2 separate regions of the Homo sapiens genome follow, and region 2 is linked to region 1. Evidence: promoter capture Hi-C in human tissues and cell types (Jung and others, 2019). All regions are on one chromosome and are shown on one strand. The core of a region is centred on a gene start or on the middle of the fragment in contact, and the rest is flanking DNA. Distances in the headings are between cores, read along the strand shown.

Region 1 (3,922 bases), core at 40-2,539:
GCCACATTCTACTATCTTTAAAACTGAGCACTGAGATCAATAGAAAAGTCTAACTACAGACACGAGCAACATCACGTGGAAAATGTCTGCCCTAGGAATTTTTACTGCCTTGACGAGGCCAGCGACTAGATGAGGTCTCTCCGAAAGCTCTTCAGCAGTTTTCCCCTGTCCACCCTTTCGCCTCCTCCCCGTGGAGAGCTCGTGGAAAGACGCGCGAGAGGGGGCCGGGTGTACAGGACTAGCACTTGCAGGCGGAAGACCAGGGCCACAACATGGCAGCAGGAACCTCCGCCCCGTTTTTCCCTTCCTGGGAACAAAAGAGCGGAGCATTCCTCCCACCCAGGCGCAAGTTAGGGAAGTGCTTCCGACAACCTCCCCGCGAGGCCCGGGTCGCTCGACGGGGAGGAGCAGCTGAGGCCACCCCCGCCAGCCCGGCGCCCAGCTCTTTGTTCTCCAAGCAGGAAGGCGGCCTCCTGCCCACCCGCCGCCTCCAAGCGGGCCCCCTCCTGCACCATAAATCCCCCCGGGACTGACAACCGCCTCGCCACGGCCTCCTCTGCTGACAAAAGGGGCAGAAATCATCACTCTCTCTTTCCTCCCCGACGAAGGGCAGCCCCTGCCGACTCCAGGTCCTACACACCTCCCCGCCGGGAGGCCAGGCTCCGGGACGCCTGCGGTTCCCTGGTCCCGCGCCAACGGCCTGGCCTTCCCTGCCGGCCCGCGTGCCTCCCGCCACGGCGCTAGCGGTCCGAGCCACGCTCCCTCGCCGTCCGAGCACAGCCGTGCCTCGGTCCGCCACGGCCTCGTCCCTGCAGGCGTCGGCCATCCGGCCATGACCGCACGGCGGCCTGGCCAACACTGACGTTTTCCTTCTACTCCGTCAGCAACAGGAAGAGAGAACAAAAGCCAAGACTTTCCAGGTATCTGAAGCGCAGAGGAAATGCTAAAAAAGGGTCGCCCCACCCGGCTCCGCCTGCGGCCGCCATTTTGTACCACTCGAGAAGAAGCGACCAGGGACGGCGGCCATTTTAGAGCGCTCCACTCGGCGGCGGCAGCGGCTCAACTCACCTTCACCGAGAACTCAGCAGCTGCCACCGCAGCTGCCTCCTCAGGATCCGGTCGTCGGGGATAGGGAAGGGAGGGGAAAGGGGAACGGAAAACAAAAAAAAGGGGGAGGGAAGGGGGAGGAAGGAGTCGGGGACGGCCTCAAACTCAGCTCAGAGGAGTCGCTGCTGCAGCCGCCACTCGGTACCCGCTGCCACCTCCATAGAGCTCCGACTCACTGCTGGCGCTAAGGCGTGTCTGAAGCCGAACTTATCACTCTTGGGGCAGCCGAACCCACCAGAGTCTCCCCGAATGGCTCCTTCGCCGCCCAATCAGCGGCCCGGTTGCCGTCTGCCACCAATCCGCGCAGGGCAGCGAGGAGGAGCCACAGGGCTGAGCTCGGTTGCGGCGCAGCCCCGCCGCAGTGCGCAAAGCCATATTCGCGAAGTCTCTGAGGCTGAGCCAGTGGCGTAAGGGGCGCCGAGCGCTGTCGAGATGAGGGTTGCGTGCGTAAAGCCGGAGAGCCCTTTTGAGTCTGCGTTGGCGTGGCTGCTGCTTCTTGCTCCAGTCCCTTTGTTCACTGAGTCCATATGCCATGCTCCAGTTGTATCATCCCCTTTTCCCTCGACCTCGTTTTCTCACCGGGAATATGGGAAGAAAACGCACCCTTACCTCCCCCGAACCCTGTGCGTGGCGAGTGAGCATTGCTTTTCTTGGCGCCCCTTGGAGCTGTGGCTGCCCTCGCGTGCCTGGCCTCTCCCGGGGCTGAGCCCTTCGGGTTGAGGCCTGGAGCCCCCGGGCGCAGCGCCGGGACACTACCCGGCTCCAGGTCCTCGGCTTCGGCAGCCTTAGGGAACCCAGAAAGTAGTGGGGAGGAGGCGAGACGTGCGCCCGGATGCCAAAGGGGAGCTTCATTCAGCTCCTTATTGGCCCACCCCCTGCAGAGTGAATGAGAAAGTGATGAAAGGAAGGGGTTGATTTTCTTCGAACCGCACAGAAGAAGCTGCTTTTCCCATAGGAATGTCCGGCTGGCGGTCACCGAGGAAAACACCCTGTGTGTCAGACTTCCGCGGGTGTTTGGAGGATTTCGAATTGCTAGCTCCTGTTTTTTTTTGTTTTTTGTTTGTTTAAGTGCACGTTAAACATTGTCAGTTGTGTATTTTCATTTTATTTAAGGTTCACCATAAGAAATAGGATTAAGCTTTTCAAAGCCGGCAAGTTGAACTATTTATACTTACCAGGTAATGTATTGATGAGTACCTTATTCCATCGTTTGCGACATTGTAGCTATACTAAAATGGAGTCATACTTCCATAAACTTAAACAACAAAAATGTCCCCATCTCCATTTTAACATGTAGTACTTTTACAGTGTATAGTCAAAGGCAAGAATGTGTGTGTTTTAACATGAATGACTTTTAAAGTGTTCAGTAAGAGGCAGGATTTTCAAAGACCCAAACTTAACCTTTGATGTGTCAAAACAGCTCTTGGTATTAGAGCACCTGGTCCTTAATACAATTTTCCGGAAAATTGCAGTTTTTCCTACGACATTTAAATGTAATAGAAGGCTGTGGTGTGGCTCTGAAGGTTTTTAACACAATTCCAACATCTGTAGATCTTTGCTATAGAATAGTCACCATTCCCTACTTTACTGTTACTACACTTATTGCTATTACATCAATTTTACTTGAACTTTAAAACTTGGAAGAGATATTCTAAAAAAAAAAAAAAACTATTTTGGGGTGGTGGTGGTGGTGCAAGTTTTGTTTTAAATACAAGAGGTTTCACTTTGTATTTCTTTGGACCCTTCTAGCTTCATGATAACACGAGAATAATGTTTCTTTATAATTTCTGTAGGGCTTTAAGGTTTGGAAAAATGCATTAGTATATGTGATATTTTTACATAACTGGTTTACATTCCATTTATCTGATAATGAACGAATACATTAGTTTACTAAGAAGAGTAGTATTCAAAAACTATTGTCTAGACTTCAAAGAGAATATTCACCTAGCCGTAAAAGTCGGATGTTCTTATAATTAAGACACTTAAAATTCAGTAATTAAAAATTTAAAAAAGGTTTTACTTAATATTTTATTTAATCTTTGCTAATTGGGAACCCTTTTGGTATGGGCTTTGCAGATATGAGTTTATGTGAGAAATTGACCTGGAAGGGAATAACCTAAGGTAGAAAAAGTAAAAATATTGATAAAACAATCTTTCAATTACCTTTCTCTCACTTAAATAGAAAGATTTGAAGTTGAAATCGTACCTGCAAAGCCCATTGCAGAAGGGTTCACAATTAGCAAAGATTAAATAAAAACATTAAGTAAAACCTTTAGAAAAAAAAATTTTTTTTTGAGACAGAGTCTCACTTTGTCACTCAGGCTGGAGTGTAGTGGTGTGATCTCTGCACACTGCAGCCTCCACCTCCTGGGTTCAAGCAGTTCTCGTGCCTCAGCCTCCTGAGTAGCTGGGATTACAAGCATGTGCCACCACGCCCAGCTAATTTTTGTATTTCTACTTGAGATGGGGTTTCACCATGTTGCCCAGACTGGTCTCAAACTCCTGACCTCAAGTGATCCACCCGTCTGGGCCTCCCAAAATACTGGGATTACAGGTGTGAGCCACTGTGCCCAGTGTAAAAAATTTTTAATTATTGAATTTTAAGTGTCTTAATTATAAGAACATCTAGCTTTTAGGGCTAGATGAATATACTCTTTGAAGTCTAGACAATAGTTTTTTTTCAAATCGAAATATATTTAAGTGAGGGAAATAAACATTGAAACTTTCTAAATGTTTCCATCACGTCATGGATATATGAAAATTCAGCAGCACTTTTGGAGGCCAAGCTGGGAGGATTCTTTGAGCCCAGGAGTTG
Region 2 (4,025 bases), core at 800-3,299, 480 kb before region 1:
CCCGAAGCAGGAAGGAAAACTCAGGAGAACTGGGTTGGGATAGTGGTTTCAGCTTCTCCTCGCCTCCTAAAGAGTCTCTTGATAGTTCTCAGGCCTTGAAGGTTCTGCCTGCCCCCAGGTTCCCCACCCCAGGAAAATAAGCAACTTCTCAGGAGAATAATGAGGTTGGTGTTTACCTTTGTGCTTCATTTGAGTAGCATGAGAGCACCCCATTCCTCACATCTGTTCATTCTTCTCCCCTTAGAAATCTTGTCTCAGCTGAAAGGTCAGAGCTAGAAGCCCCAATCTGCTTCTAGCTCTGACCTTCTGGCTTTGTCAGGAATCCCTATGAATTTGTGCTGTTGATTTTCTTTGAACTAAATACAGAAATGTGTCTGCACTCTGGGATAGAGAAGAGAGTATAGTAATTGCCAGGAGAACTGAAGATGACCTTAAGGCAGGCCAGGTGACTGGTAAACCATACCCTTCACAAGGCTACCAGAGCTCTAGCCTGACCAATATTATTTTGAAAGGGAATACATTAGAATCCCTGGTGACTAGATGAACATGGCCATCACTATTTCTACAAACCTGTCTTCTGATGAACATATACTCCTGCTGGATGGTGTCAAGACATGCTTGTTTCTTGAGTGGTTTAGATACCAGTTATTGCCCCTCCTGTTATGCCTGGTAACTAGGATGCTGTCAAGAAAATACAGCAGGACTTCATTGAGCTTAAAAAGAGCGTTTCAAAAATATTGCATTAGCCTTTTGTCCTTTCAGTCTGTTTTTCATAGAACAAATGTAATCTTAGTCGCTACAAATTTGTTTAAAATAGCTCTTCTGGTGAGTCACCTAAAGTTAACTGCAGATATGGTATTGTTTTAGCCATGTCAAGCTTGAAATGTTATCCAAGTCCTAGGAACTACTCACTATGGGAAGCTGATGATGTATGTGCCCTCACACGTGTTTTGAGGGTGATCCTATAATGTCCGGAGAGAAAGAAATGCCTGAGATGAACTGGTCAGCATTACATTTCTCAGAACGGGCTGCAAGAGCTTCAGAAGCAAAAGGAGTGTTCTCTGTAGGCTCAGATGCTCACATGACCCAAGACACGTGAAGGGTCTGCCCATCATTCACCCCTCTATCCCCACAAGTGGTCAGAAAGTTAGGAAAATCTCCAAGAGACCATGCAGAAGGGTCAAAGGATCTTGCAGATGTTCTGAGCAAAAAAATGAAAACTTTAAACAGAACATTGTGCCATGACTTGAAAAGGTCATTATCTAGTTCACACTTACATCAGACTATAAATATTGTCAGAAAAATGGATATGTTTGCCAGGACCATGAACAGTAAAATTGCTTAAAATAGGCCACAGAAACCCTCAAGGCCAGTGGGGCCATGGCAGGCCATGACACTCAAACCTGATGCTGCCTTGTGAGAGACCTCAGCAGGAACAAAAGCCAACAGCTGCTTATTGGAAAATTTATACTCAGTGGCCCTCAAAAATTGCAAAAGCCTTTCAAGTCATGTAAGTTAATTTTGTCTCACTCTTCCACCAGGTAGAAGTGAGACAGGGAGACTCATGCTCCTTAAATGAGGTCCCTTGTCAAAGACTAGCTGTCTTATGGCCTTTGAATACTCTGCCCTTCCCCCTTCCTATGGTATAGCTTTGTGTCCAGTTAGCACTGAGCAGAAGCTGCTCTCCTGCTGTCCCCACCCACTGTTGGCTAAAGCCAGGTCACCTCCTGCCAGGCAGCGGCTGGGTGAAAGTCCAGAGAAGCTCTCCTGAATAAACAAGTCAAACAAAGGCAGTTCCCAGCAGTGGATGGGGCTGTACTCCAGAAGTCTATTTGCAAATCTGTCCTTTAGAACTCGGAAGACATTCCCCAGGAGGAGCAATGTTATGCAGTGTGGCAAGGTTCCCAGGCTAGCCCACACCTCTGATTTAACCCAGAATGGGCTGGGGAAACAGTGCTCTAGAACTCATCATTATGGGTAATACCTTTGTAGTCTCTGCTCTTCAGTTTACAAATAGTTGCTGAGCTAGGCATGGTTCCAGGTGATGTGAAGGTTCAAAGCTGCCTCAGCTTTGTGGAGTAGGTAGATTCAGTAGCTCCTGGGTGCACAGTGGCTGAGATTTTCCCAGTCTCATGAAATCCCTGCTTCTCTTTCCTATCTACATGTTTTAGGCTGAAAGTGAAGGGATGACCATTCCGGCTTTTCTTTGGTTTGTTTCTTCAAGATAACCTGGTGTAGGGAAGGGTGAGAGTCCTGGCTCTATCATTACACACAGCAGCATCTCCAAGCTTCAGTTTCTCCTCTGAAAAATAGGATAATATGTAGCTAAGAGAGCCTTGGAGTTGCCTCCCCAGCCCTTGTTCTTCTCTTGGTAACTACCATGACTTTTGTTAGGGTATCCACATCTCCCCCAATAGACCACTCCACTCCTGAAGACTCAGGCCTAGTGCAATTCCATTTTAAGGCCACTATTACAGGACCCAGTGATGGGTGCTGGCCTAATTCAGGCCAGTGAGCTTGCATAAGTTTATTGGCTTATTTCCAGAAAAACAAATTTCCTTTTTCCTGCTAGATAAGAATGGGACACATATGTGGTCTCACTAGCAATTCAGGCCAATGAGTTTGCATAAGTTTACTGGCTTATTTCCAGAAAAACAAGTTCCCTTTCTCCTGCTAGATAAAAGTGGGAGACATATGCAGTCTCAGCAGCAATAGAAAGCCACTCTGAGACTAAAACAGGGGCAAGCCCTAGATGGAAGCTCTCATTGTGAATGGCAGAGTGGAGTGATGGAAAATAGAACTCCCTGATAAAGTTGTTGAACTCCTAAATGGACCCATCCTCAATCCTGTCATACTTCTATTGTATAAACCAATCATCTCCTTCACTTAGTAACCCATAGTGAGTTGAGCTTTCTGCTCCTTTTAATGGAAGCCATCTTAATTAATACATTATAGCACAGGATTTACTATGGGCATTAAATGGGATATAGCATTCACAGTATCTGTCTCATGCTGAAAAAAGAAAAAAAATTCATAGTATTTAGCACAGAATTTATATATGACCCCTGCCCTTCCAGTCCAAGGGCATTAATGGAAAAGACCATAGTTTCTCAGGCCTTTGTTGGATAGGGAAGAAGAGGGCATGTGTGGACTCCAACACGACCTTAACCTGGTTTGAGGCTTGAATATCTTGCCTGGGCTAGAAAGGTGGCCCCTCTGGACTGGCTTTAATTTTAGGATCAGTCCCTTTAGAGGGAGTAGATCTTGTAAGCTGGGGTTTCCCTAGCCCTTGGCAAGTATACATGTTGAAGAGGGTTGGGAGACAAAGAGGGAAGAAAGGAGAGAACCATGACTTGCTGGTGTAATAACAAAAGGTCCTACCTATCTTTGGGATCGAGATTAATCTCTCCTGTCTTTCTTCTTTTTCCTCCTTTCTTCCTTACATTTTTTCGCACTCCCAGTTCTCATTAGGGCTGAAGAAGAAAGGGAAGTCAAAGCTGGGATGGCAAAGGAGTGGAAGTATATGCCAGAGGGAGAAAGGGGAACTTGTGTAAGCTAATTCTGATGACTTTGCATTCAAGTGTAGCACAGATCTCAGTTTTCAGACTAAATGGTAGCTTTAGACTCCTATCGGAGGTTGGCAAGGCTGGTTTCTTGGAGTTTTTGCATGAAGAACAGGAAACTAGGCAGAGCAGCCTGGTTCAAGGACAAAGGGTTATGTTATGACTAATAGGAAGGAGGAATCATTTGGAGTACACACAGTGGCTGTAAGTCAGATTTCGGTCATTTCATTACCCCCAGATTTAGCCTAAGTCACCAGGGAGAGGAGACTGCAATAAAAGAAAAATTAACAAAAAGCTGACATGACTGAAATCTGAAGGAACTTGATTCACATGACATTACTGCTTTGCAGTTGTGCTGTATTACAAGGGTAGAGCTCATTTGTCCTAGTGTTAGCATACTGCACTTGAGAGTATGCTAGAACACAGGATGGAAAAGGAGTGTGAGAAAACATTACTTCACAA

Evidence for each region. The method cuts DNA at HindIII sites, captures the fragments that hold promoters and counts their contacts. A contact is called where the count stands out against the background at its distance.
Region 2: a contact is called between a fragment that was not itself captured here and the fragment with the promoter of EIF4G2 in region 1, in 1 of the 25 tissues and cell types used here (bladder).

Annotation. Positions count from the first base shown.
Region 1 is chr11:10,807,637-10,811,558 of GRCh38, forward strand. EIF4G2 (eukaryotic translation initiation factor 4 gamma 2) reads right to left here and starts at 1,290. Exons shown (of 22, transcript NM_001418.4): 1 at 1,069-1,290. It overlaps LOC101928053 (a long non-coding RNA gene), which reads left to right and starts at 1,661. Exons shown (of 3, transcript NR_120540.1): 1 at 1,661-1,730; 2 at 2,221-2,285. RefSeq lists enhancers at 63-142, 873-1,132, 1,643-1,692, 1,768-2,374 and a silencer at 1,413-1,462. The HindIII fragment of the contact is 7,870 bases long and covers 1-3,922 here.
Region 2 is chr11:10,324,858-10,328,882 of GRCh38, forward strand. The region is part of intron 1 of CAND1.11 (a long non-coding RNA gene); the gene reads left to right. Among named protein-coding and RNA genes, the nearest start is that of CAND1.11, 19 kb to the left of the region's middle. RefSeq lists a silencer at 3,865-4,025. The HindIII fragment of the contact is 5,263 bases long and covers 1-4,025 here.